3 separate regions of the Homo sapiens genome follow, and regions 1 and 2 are each linked to region 3. Evidence: promoter capture Hi-C in 16 types of primary human blood cells and fetal thymus (Javierre and others, 2016). All regions are on one chromosome and are shown on one strand. Each heading gives the region's core, a stretch centred on a gene start or on the middle of the fragment in contact. The rest is flanking DNA. Distances are from core to core; before and after follow the strand shown.

Region 1 (3,440 bases), core at 912-3,411, 1.4 Mb before region 3:
TTATTTTGTAATATTTTATATAATTGTTTCTTTACTGTTTACTATTTCCCCCATTGGACAATAAACTGCACGAGGGAAGAACCATGTTTGTCTTGTCCGTGATCACTGCCTCCACATTGGCTGGCAGTGTAACTAAGGATGCAATAAAAATTCTTTGTTATGGAATACATCAAAAAAATTCAGGACAAAAAGACATGTAATAATTCTCTAGATCAGATTTCTCTTTTTGCTGAAAACACATGTGGGCCCTTAAGGGGTAGGTGATTTATCAATGTTATTGTTATGTTAATGTCTCAGTTACCTCAATGTCCTGGTTTCTGGCCCAGCAGGGATAAATACATCTCCTGATGTCCTATGTCCTTTATCACGCCTGCAGTCTTACTCTTTCACATTTTTGGTGTATCTTCTTTCTCACTTTTCTAACTCATTTACAATCCTTTCTTTAAAAATTTGTCTTCACCTGTCCTGTTTTTTCAGTACTAAAATACAACTATGTTCATTCACCACATTTTCCATAGCACCAGTACAATAAAAAGTGACTTGGATAAAGCTTTTCATTTCCTTACTGCACAATTTGCTCAAGTTGTCATTCTCAATATTGTCTCATTTCCCCATACCCTGACAGAGTGACTAGCTAAGAGGCAGAGAGTGCAGCCATCCCAATGGCAGCACACATAGTTACTCTTTATGTTTCTAAACATCCTGCAAATTATTTAGGACGGGTGTTTTGTTTTGTTTTGTTTTGCTTTTCCATTAAATAGCCTCTAAGCTTTGAAGCAACCAAGAGAGAATCGGAGTAAAAAAATTATAGGGTTAAAGAAAGAAAAAATAAACAGATCAATAAAATGAAGAAATAATAAAGTGGAGAAAAGGAAGGATGGGGAGGTGGTTTAGAAAACAAAAAGGGTTCCAAGCAGCGGGGCTGTTAAAAGGACCAGAATCTAAGTCAGGAGGTTGGGGGTGGGGGTGGGGGTGGGGCAGGAGTCTGAATTCTTTTTCTCCTATACTGATGAGCGATAATTAACTATGGCCTGGACTGTCTTTCCATCTAAAAAACTAACTGCCCGAGGAGTAAAAACTGACACCAATCCTTCTCCACGGGGTGGGAGAGATAATAAATGGAAATCTTCCAACAAAAATGCTCTTTATCTCTCTGCTCTATTTTAAGAGCAAGATTTTTAGGGCATAATTTTCAACAAGTTTTGGCTGAGGCTGAACACAGGGTTCAAAGATAATTTAGGACAGTCAAAGAAGAGGCCAATTACTTTCTAACAGAAATGGCCTAAACACCACGATTACATTACTGGGAAATAAACCAAATGACTGCTAGAAATACCTGTTCGCAAAGCAGCACTGCATGATCTTCCATGAAATGCCCTGCATCAACCCAAAGTAGCAGGGAGACTATCAAGGGGGCGAAAGTAACCTGCCTGTCCTTTCCTGCTGGGACACATCCTACCTGGGACAATGTCTCCTTGCCTTCTTTCTCCTGGGCCCAACCTCAGGACTTGCCCTTAGCTCTAGGAACCAAGAGGAGGAGGAGGGGGAATCAGTGGAACAGACACCCTTCTCCACCCTTCTCACTTTCCACCTTAAGGTGCCAGGAGATGAGGGACCCCGCAGCTCAGGGCGGACGCCCGGTGAGGGCGCAGAATCGGGGAGGATGGATGCAGCGCGTGGCGCAGACTGCATCTTGACCCTCAACTCCGCCGCCGCTACCTTCTTTCGCGCTCCTCCCCGACCCGCTCACCTCCGCGCCCCCCGCGCCCTCCACGCCGGGCAGGGGCGAGCCTTGCAGCTCCCCGGGAGCGGCGCCGACTCCCCAAGGGCCCACCCGGGGGCCAGGGCCTACGGACTGCACCTCCGACTGGCGGTTGCAGGGTGGCTGCCGCGGCGGTCGCACTCCAGCTGCTTCCCCGCCTACCCAAGCTGGATCGCGAACAGCCAGGGGAGAAGGAAGGAGGGAGGCGCGCGGAGGCCGGCTTGGCAGCGACGCGCCGCTAGGGGCTGCGTGCCCGGACAGCTCGTGGCGCCGAGGGCCCGAGGAACGCTGACTGGAGTCGGGAAGAGCCGTGGAGCGCGGGGAGGAGTCGGGGAGCTCGGAGGGGGCGGGGGTGTGTGAAGGGAGCCGGGCTGTGTGGAGGGAGCTGGGAAGGGCCCAGAGCACCGAGGGGGAGCCAGCAGTGAGTGCACTGGGGAGCTCCACACACGCGGCTCCGCAGCTTTGCGCGCCCTTCTACCGCGAGCGGCTGAGTATCCGCCTGGCTCCCCTGCGGGGTTCCTCCGTGGTCTTCCGGAGATTCTTTCTGAAGCAGCTTTAGAATAGTCAAGCCTATTTTTCTACTCCATTTCTTTTTGTAATGTGGGGTCACCTTTCCGCTCTAGAAATTGCTTTTCTTACGCGATTCCCACCCCAACTCTCGCCAAGGGCCCTGGTTCTCATCTCCCCAGTCTTAGCTTCTGACAAGCCTCCAAGAAACTGCGCTTTTTTCTTTTGTAAGTGTTCTTTTGCCTCATGTTTACCCTATCCCAAACGTCTTTTGACTAGACTGTGTCCTTGGAATAAAATGTTCGGAAATGCCCTTTCATGAAAACTCCCTCGGATAGGAGGACCCTCACAGACCCTGGACTGCAGAGATTATTCTGTTGACTTTGACCTTCACTCTAGCTGGTGCCGCGCGAGCTTTGGTGTGGGGGAAAGGAAGGTTAGGCCGTGAGTCAGGAGACCTGTGTTCCTGCGAAAGCCATTTACCTTCTGGGGCCGCAATGGCTTTGAATGTTTCAGGGGATCCCCTGAGAGCACCTTTGGCTCTGGGTTTCTGTAAATTTTCTCCCTGCGGATTACCAAGTAAAAGTACCTTTTATCTTTTGTGTAGAAGGTGTCAGTAGAAGAAGCAAGAGATCTTTATTCCCAAATATAAAATCAACTTACCAAAAATTCTCAAATTTGGGGAAATTTTTTTCATACATTAGTAAAGTACCATTTCAACAAATTAAGTTTAAAAATTATCCCTCTAGGTGGTTTATTAACCAGACCAAAAAAACCCAACAACAACAACAACGAGAGGGGGGTCTTAGATCGATCACTGGGGCACTGCACTTTCCCCTTTGTAGTCCATACACAGATTAACCTTTGTAAATGCTGCTTTGGAAATACATCCTTTGTTTGACTTGAAATGTAACCCCTCCCCTACCGCCAAATATTATTAAGGTTTAAAGTTTAGGCAGAAGCTAAGGTTTTAACGATGTGTCAGGGTGTGGAACCATCGACAGCTGGTAGAATACTTTCCATTTTGGTTACTGGAAACAAGTCATTAAATCTAATATCAATTTTAATAATTTCACTTCAACAAAACTGTCAAATAATGAGATTCGTGGAGTTTTTTCTAGTAGTTCCTCTGGAGAACTTGTGGAGAAAATTCATGAATCTTAGCAGTTAA
Region 2 (3,951 bases), core at 551-3,050, 1.6 Mb before region 3:
GAGCTCCTCCCAAATGCTTCCCTCCTAGCGAGTCAAGGGGAAACATGGGTAGGAGGAATAAATGTTCCCTACTAAGAATGGGGTTCTTGTGAAGATTAAATAAAACTGTTTATCTGAATAAAATCATGATTTAGCATAGAACTTGACCCATATGAAACCTCAGGAGCTGTTGCTGTCATTGTTGTTATTGTCTGCATGTAGCTCGTGCACTTGAGTAATTTCTGTCTGGCCTCCATCTCGGGACAGTTTGACCCTCCCCAGCTCTGGTCTCTTTTTGGGGTGGGTAAGAGTTAGGGGGTTGTTTAGAAGAGTTAGTACAGTAATGCAATACATAACGTTTCAGTCAATAACAGACCACGTGTACAACAGTGGGCCCATAAGATTATAATGACACTGAAAAATTCCTATAGCCTGGTGATGTCCTGGACTTTGTAATATTGTAGCACAACATATTACTTATGTTTGTGGTAATGCTGGTGTACCCAAAACTATTGGCTGCCAGTCATATAAAACTAACACACATACAATTCTGTATACTATGTATGATATAGTTTGGCTCTGTGTCCCTACTCAAATCTCATGTCAAATTGTAATCCCACATCTCAGGGAGAGGCCTGGTGGGATGTGATTGAATCACAGAGGCAGATTTCCCCCTTGCTGTTCTCATGATGGTGAGTGAGTTCTCACAAAATCTGATGGTTTGAAAGTGTGTAGCACTTCCCCCTTTGCTCTCTTGTTCTCTCTCCTGCTTTCCCATGCTAAGATGTGCTTGCTTTCCCTTCTCCTTCCACCAGACTGTAAGTTTCCTGAGGCCTCCCAGCCTGCTTTCTGCAGAGCTGTGAGTCAATTAAACCTCTTTTCTTCATAAATTACCCAGTCTCAGGTAGTTCTTTTTTTTTTTTTTTTTTTTCTTAGACGGAGTCTCGCTTTGTCGCCAGGCTGGAGTGCAGTGGCACGATCTCAGCTCACGGCAACCACCACCTCCCGGGTTCAAGCAATTCTCTTGCCTCAGCCTCCTGAGTAGCTGGGACTACAGGCACACACCACCACGCCCGGCTAATTTTGTATTTTTAATAGAGACAGGGTTTCACCATGTTGGCCAGGATGGTCTCTATCTCTTGACCTCGTGATCTGCCTGCCTTGGCCTCCCAAAGTGCTGGGATTACAGGCGTGAGCCACTGCGCCCAGCCTCAGGTAGTTCTTTGTACCAGTGTGAAAACAGACTAAATACAATGTAATACTTGATAACGATAATAAACAACCATGTTACTGATTTATGTATTTACTGTACTCTGATTTTTATTGCTATTTTAGAGTGTAGTCCTTCTAATTATGTATATTAAAAAGTTAACTATAAACCGGCCTTAGGCAGGGTCTTGAGGGGGTATTCCAGAAGAAGTCATTGTTATCATAGGACATGATCACTCCATGCCTGTTATTGCCCCTGAAGAACTTCCAGCGGGACAAGATGTAGAAGTTGGAGGCAGTGATGCTGATGATTTCGACCCTGTGTATGCCTGGGCTAATGTATGTGTTTGTGTCCTATTTTTTACAAAAACTTTTACAAAGTTAAAAAAATTATTAAAAAAGAAAAACGCTTACAGAAAAGGACAGAAAATATTGTGTACAATGTGCTAGGTGTTATTACAAAAGAGTCAAAAAGAAAAATTTAAAGTGTTAAAAGTAAAAAAGTTACAGTAAGCTAAGATTAATTTATTATTGAAGAAATAAAATTTATTCTTATGAATTTAGTGTAGCTTAAGTGTACAGCATTTATAAAGTCTACGGTAGTGTATGATAATGTGTGAGGCCCTCACAATCACCACTCACTCACTGACTCACCCAGAGCAACTTCCAGTCCTGCAGGCTCCATTCATAAGTGTCCTATAAAGGTGTACCATTTTTTATCTTTTATATTTTTTCTGTACCTTTTCTATGTTTAGATATATTTAGATACACAAATACTTACTGTCATATTACAATTGCCTGTGGCATTCAGTATTGTAACATGCTGTACAGGTTTCTAGTCTAGGAGCAATAGGCTATACCATCTAGCCTAGGTGTGTAGTAGGCTATACCAGCTAGGTTTGCGTAGGTACACTCCATGATGTTCGCACAATGACAAAATTGCTTAAGGATGCATTTCTCAGAACATATCCCTGCCATTAAGTGATGCATGACTAGATCACCCTCAAAAAAAGTGCTGGCCCTTACGGGGTAGAGTTCATCTTGTGATTTCATTTTCTCTCTCCTTCTGTCATATTTTCTTTGTTCTGATTTCTTCACTCATTTTATATTTTACTTTCCACTTCATTTTGAAGAAGCTCAGAAGTATTTGCTACTTATTCCACATAAAATATAGATGAAGTCAGCCATGTATAGAAGATAAATCCAAAAATTAAGAGCTCTTACATGACTGAAATTTGGTGGAAGAAATAACTTTCACATCAGATAGTTTTGTATCCAGTTATCTTCTGGCTCCATGAATCAGAGATCTATCTTTTTAAGAGTACTAATGAAGTATATCATTTTTTAAGAAATGCCTGATGAATCAAACTCTTAAAGGATAAAAAGTGTTTAGAAAATCAAGATTCGTGCAAAAGAAAACAATAAAAATCATCCAAATTCATCCACTTTGATATGGTTTGGCTGTGTCCTCACCCATATCTCACCTTGAATTGTAATAATCCCCATGTGTCAAGGGTGGGCCCAGGTGGAGATAATTTAATCATGGGGGTGGTTCCCCCATACTGTTCTCATGGTAGTGAATAAGTCTCACGAGATCTGACGGTTTTATAAATGGGAGTTCCCCTGCACAAGCTCTCTTGCCTGCTGTCACGTAAGATGTCCCTCTGCTCTTCCTTCATCTTCTGCCATGATTGTGAGGCCTCCCCAGCCATGTAGAGCTGTGAGTCCATTAAACCTCTTTCCTTTATAAATTACCCAGTCTTGAGTATATCTCTATTAGCAGCATGAGAACAGACTAATACACACTCTGAGATCATTGTTCACATCTTGGTGTATACCCATCCAATCTTTCTTCTTTGCATAAATATTATTTTCTATGCCAAGCGTGGTGGCTCACGCCTGTAATCCTAGCACTTTGGGAGGCAAAGGTGGGCAGATCATCTGAGGTTAGGAGTTCAAGACCAGCCTGCTTTAACATGGCAAAACCCCATCTCTACTAAAAATACAAAAAATTAGTCAGATGTGGTGGCGGGCATCCATAATTCCAGCTACTCGGGAGGCTGAGGCAGGAGAATCGCTTGAACCCGGGAGGCAGAGGTTGCAGTGAGCCAAGATCATGCCACTGCACTCCAGCCTGGGTGACAAGAGTGAAACTCCATCTCAAAAAAAAATATTATTTTCCAAAGGAAGATCATATTTTACTTACCATTTTATAACTTGCTCTTTCAGTTTACTATAGATATTAAATATCTTCCCATGATATTAAATATTATTTTAAAAATAATTTTTATAACAGAAGAAATGTGTGTTCATGATAATACATTCAAGTAGTAGAGAACTGTATCTGTATAGAGGTAAAAGTAAAATTCTGCTTATCTTGCCAATATCCTATATGAATTCCCTGAAAGTATCCACTGTTAATAATTGTATGTGCACAAGCGTGTGTGTGTGTGTCCTTTCAGATATTTTCTGTGCCTTTGCAGGGAAATAGTTTTTCTACATACATGTAATTATATTGTCAATATTGTTCTACTTTTTGAATATTTTTTCATCTAAGCTTATTTTTCTATTTTTTAAAACCATTTCAATAGTTTTTGGGAACAGGTGGTGTTTGGTTACATGGATAAGTTCATTAGTGGTGATTTCTGAGATTTTGATGCACCCATTACCCAAGCAGTGTATACTGTACCCAGTGTGTATTCTTTTATCCCTCACCCCAATTTCACCCTTTCCCTCAAGTCCCCAGAGTCCATTATATCATTC
Region 3 (3,972 bases), core at 108-2,607:
AGGGAAACATGTTTAATAAGGAAAATAATTGTTTAAATGTTTTCATTTTAAATTTGAAAAGACAGAGTTACATCCAAGGAGAGAAGAGTTGTGAATAAGTGACTGGAGATAATAATTTGAGAATTTTCTGTGCAAAAATAATCTAGAATGGGAGCTCAGTTTTTTCTTCTTTCTCAACCCCAATTAACTAGTTGTGTCTACCTTGAGACTCAGATTGAAAAATATTTTTAGTCCACAGGTAAGCTCAGAAGGAAAGCCCCATGATCAATTTCCAATTTCAAACGTGCAATCTAGTGGCAAGAGTGGCTTTAAGGACCACTTACCTGCCCTCACAAAAGAGACATATAGATGGTGCTGAGCTAACTGGGCAAAGAAGTAGAGCGAGAGATCCAACCACATCATGAGCGCAGAGCCTAAGTATTTTCCAGAGTTGGATGTGAGAAGGTATTGCCGGGCAAGGCCTCATACAGAGATTTAGAAAGAAATCCAAGAAAGTGCAGTATCATAGAAACCAGGAGAGGAGAGAAGGCCATAATGAAGGCTCTGGTCAACATGGACACTTTCTTCCAACAAAGCTGTAAGAAGAATGAGAGTGAGATAATAACTAGACTGGGCAATGACATGGTTTGGCACCATGGTTTACATCTTCGGAAAGATTGTATTGCTTCAGGGAGTGATAAAGTGAATCACAATGAGGAAGAATAGTCCATTTTTATGTATTACACAATTAATTAATTATTAAGTCACCTCTCTGCCTTCATTTACTTGGATAATTTATCATTGTATTATCATTAAAATTAGATCATTAGTTTGGATAATACAGAACTCAGGGAAAAAATTATTCTTAGGTTTCATTGTTAAAAATTGAATAAACGTTTTTTAAACTTGTTTTAAAATTACTGTTTAGAACTCATGTGGATGCAATTTTAAGAGATGCATCTCTTAAGACACAATTTTAAGAGGTGCATCTCTTAAAATCACATTAAGTTAAGTAAGCCAAATCTTACTATAGAACTTTCTCATCATATATTCACCATTAGATAGATTCAGATATGTGTTCCTGAAGTCTTTAGTTAGTGTCTAAGTAGAACAGAGGAGTTCTACAACCATACTTTTTATTTATCAAACGGAAAAAAAGAAAGGAAAAAGATGTCCAGATTCTCACCATCTGTCTGACTTACAAATGCACCTGACTAAAAATAAACCATTCAGGAATAAGCCATTCACACTTCCTCTGCAGTGACTTTGAAGTGTTTGTCGAGATACCCGTATTAAGAAACTTGGCGCTCTGGTCCTTTAATGGTGCTGACATTCTGACTCACGTATGCCCGAGGGAAGGCAGAACACAGGACAGCTGAGAACACCAGAGGACTGGCAGTTGGGAGCCTGATGGAGGACAAGTAGGGCCTCGAGGACAGGTGCGTGACAGAAGCACAGGAAAAAAAAGAAAAATGGTAAGTTGACCTGGAAAAAAAAATTGAGGAGATTTGTAAGCAGAGTAAGTTAAAGTAGCAGAATACTTTCATGTAGCCCTTACAACAACAAAAACAACAAGAAAACAAATAAAGGGGGGAGAAATGAATCATTTCTGAGATTCGTCGATAGGAGAAAAAACAAAGAACCAAAACTTTTCCCTTGAAATGTTTACTGTTATTATTCAAGGAACATTATTAACTATTAGTGACATGACTAAAGGTTACATAAGCTAATTAGGACTTAAAAAGCCTTGGATTTTTTTTTAAAAGTTATAGATCAGTTAGATTTGTAAAAGAAACTGGAAGAATTACCATAAAATACCATTTTTAAAAAATTTGGCTTATAAAGGACAATCTGTAATCACCATTACATGACATTTACAAAGTTTTTTCCTAGGATATTATTTAACTCTTTCGTTGTAAACTTTTAAAAAAGTCTATAGTTTGAGTATTGTTTTAACATTGTCTTTCATTTCAAATACATTGTTTCCTGATAAAACTGGCAAAAGATTGGGATTTTACTATTTAGTAACATTTGACAAACCGTGATTTACTCTTTTTTTTTTTGTCAGAAGAAATAAAAACACGAGTTCATCAGTAAAGAGGTACCCTGGCAGCATAAATATTATGATAAGCTAAAAGCTGGAATCATCTGGAAAAATAAATAAGACTCCTCATGTCCTTTTCGGTCCATAACCAGAAGGGCAGCAAAAGGCCTTTGCCACTGGAACCTCTTCTTTTTCTCCAAGTCCCACGTAGCAATTACCTGCACTTTCAAGAAGAGAAACAACGACTACACCTAAAGAAATTCCTTCTTGATAGGATGTTTCTAGTGGCCAAGATACAAGCAAATGTAGAAAGAAAAGATGTTGCTGACTACTATGAACAAATGTTTCAGTCAGTTTTGAAACATCACCTAGGAGAAGCAGTGACAGGATTGCTGCTCATCTATCCCACTTCCATTCTGCATATCCTCGAGTCCTCCAGCGACACTCTCTACAAAGTTCTTTTAGATTATATTGGCCATGTCAAAGATGAAACAGTATTTTTTATTCAACAAATGAAAATTATAGTCATTTCTCATAACATTCCAATGAGGCTTTTTATGCAATGGCATGTTTCAGTGATAAAAGTTCCAGTTATGTATCTCGACGATGTGACACAGTCACAGTCCCTAAAGGAGGTCATCACAGATTTTCTCACACAAACTCATAAACTGTCACTCTACCTTTGCCAGACTATGAAAGTAGGCACTAAAGGACCAGGCGATAACTTACACCAAGTTGCACCTGACCTACTCCTCCCAGAACAAATCATAAAGTACTTGTGCAAATCCGAAGAATTCATGGACCCGGCAACATTTATAAACATGTATAATAGACCCATACACATCACTCTGGATTCTGAGGTGGTATGGCCTGCTCCTTCACGTTTCTAGGATTGAGAGGGATAATGTGCCCATGTCTCTTAAGGAGTTTGTGCTACTTAAATAAAAAAAACATTTTTAAAGTTACTGGTGTCTTTTAAAAGAAACAGAACATTGCAATATACACAGAGGTAATATATTAATCTTTATAGAGTATGTTGAGCTAAACTTTAAAATGTATCTATTTGTTGTGGTATTAAGTTCAATACATTATTTTACTAGGTAGATGGGTTTAATAAGTTTATCATAAGCTCTCAAATATTAACATCATTTTCATGAATTGACACTTTTCAAAAAAAAGTATGGCTGAAAAAAGACAAACGGAATTCAGATTATCATCCAATCCCTCAAGAGTTAATAAACAGTCACTACTACATAGCAGAAGTATAGTGTTCTGAGGGTACAAAATCGAGAAGAAAAATCCCACCCTTGAGTTGCTTGCAACCTCAGGTTAGAGGCAAGTACATGTAGAAGTAGTTACGATATGACATATAATGTAATATAATATATCATTATAGTAGCAGTATATAGGAAGGGCTTTGAGAGCACAAGTAAAGGAATAATCACTGTATAATTCCTGCATTCAGAAAACAAAATCTAATTATTGAAAATATTTCCAAAGCCCACATATTCTGGCCTATATAATCAAGAATATTGAGACCATTATAAAGCTACAGAAAACAATAGCTATTCGGAATGAAATGAAAATACATTATCAGGTGGCATTGTGCTACTCCATGCAACATCATTTATTGAACATCCCTCTATGTTACAAACATTTGCCAGGCACTGAGGAATATGGCAGGGTACACAGAAAACATTATCTGCCCACTATTAACACTTACTTCTAAATGATTTTATGTAAAATAAACAATCTGGTTATTTTCTCAATTCACTTTCTAGAAAGCAACTAATTATATATAATTTCTATGTGACCAATTTCAAGTTGATCCCTTCTTTTATCCAGATGAATATTTTTTGCATTGTTTAAAAGTTTTTAGCTTGTTTAAACAATTAATTGACATCAATATTTTGAAAACTGCAATGATATTTGTCCCAAATCACCTTAAC

What was found. Contacts are between HindIII fragments. The CHiCAGO score rates a contact against its expected background, and 5 or more counts as called.
Region 1: the fragment with the promoter of STEAP2-AS1 here is called in contact with the fragment with the promoter of TEX47 in region 3 in 14 of 17 cell types (naive CD4 T cells, naive CD8 T cells, activated CD4 T cells and 11 more); the score reaches 19.8 in naive CD4 T cells.
Region 2: a fragment that was not itself captured here is called in contact with the fragment with the promoter of TEX47 in region 3 in 1 of 17 cell types (total B cells); the score reaches 5.1 in total B cells.

Annotation. Positions count from the first base shown.
Region 1 is chr7:90,210,356-90,213,795 of GRCh38, reverse strand. It overlaps STEAP2-AS1 (STEAP2 antisense RNA 1), which reads left to right and starts at 2,161. Exons shown (of 3, transcript NR_110029.2): 1 at 2,161-2,496. It overlaps STEAP2 (STEAP2 metalloreductase), which reads right to left and starts at 2,056. Exons shown (of 6, transcript NM_001244944.2): 1 at 1,751-2,056. RefSeq lists a silencer at 1,894-1,953. The HindIII fragment of the contact is 5,296 bases long and covers 772-3,440 here.
Region 2 is chr7:90,438,621-90,442,571 of GRCh38, reverse strand. No RefSeq gene overlaps it. Among named protein-coding and RNA genes, the nearest start is that of PTTG1IP2, 29 kb to the left of the region's middle. The HindIII fragment of the contact is 3,894 bases long and covers 1-3,747 here.
Region 3 is chr7:88,793,122-88,797,093 of GRCh38, reverse strand. It overlaps TEX47 (testis expressed 47), which reads left to right and starts at 1,357. Exons shown (of 2, transcript NM_152706.4): 1 at 1,357-1,454; 2 at 2,048-2,988. The coding sequence starts at 2,152. The coding sequence ends at 2,913. All of the region lies in intron 1 of ZNF804B (zinc finger protein 804B), which reads right to left. The HindIII fragment of the contact is 9,842 bases long and covers 1-3,972 here.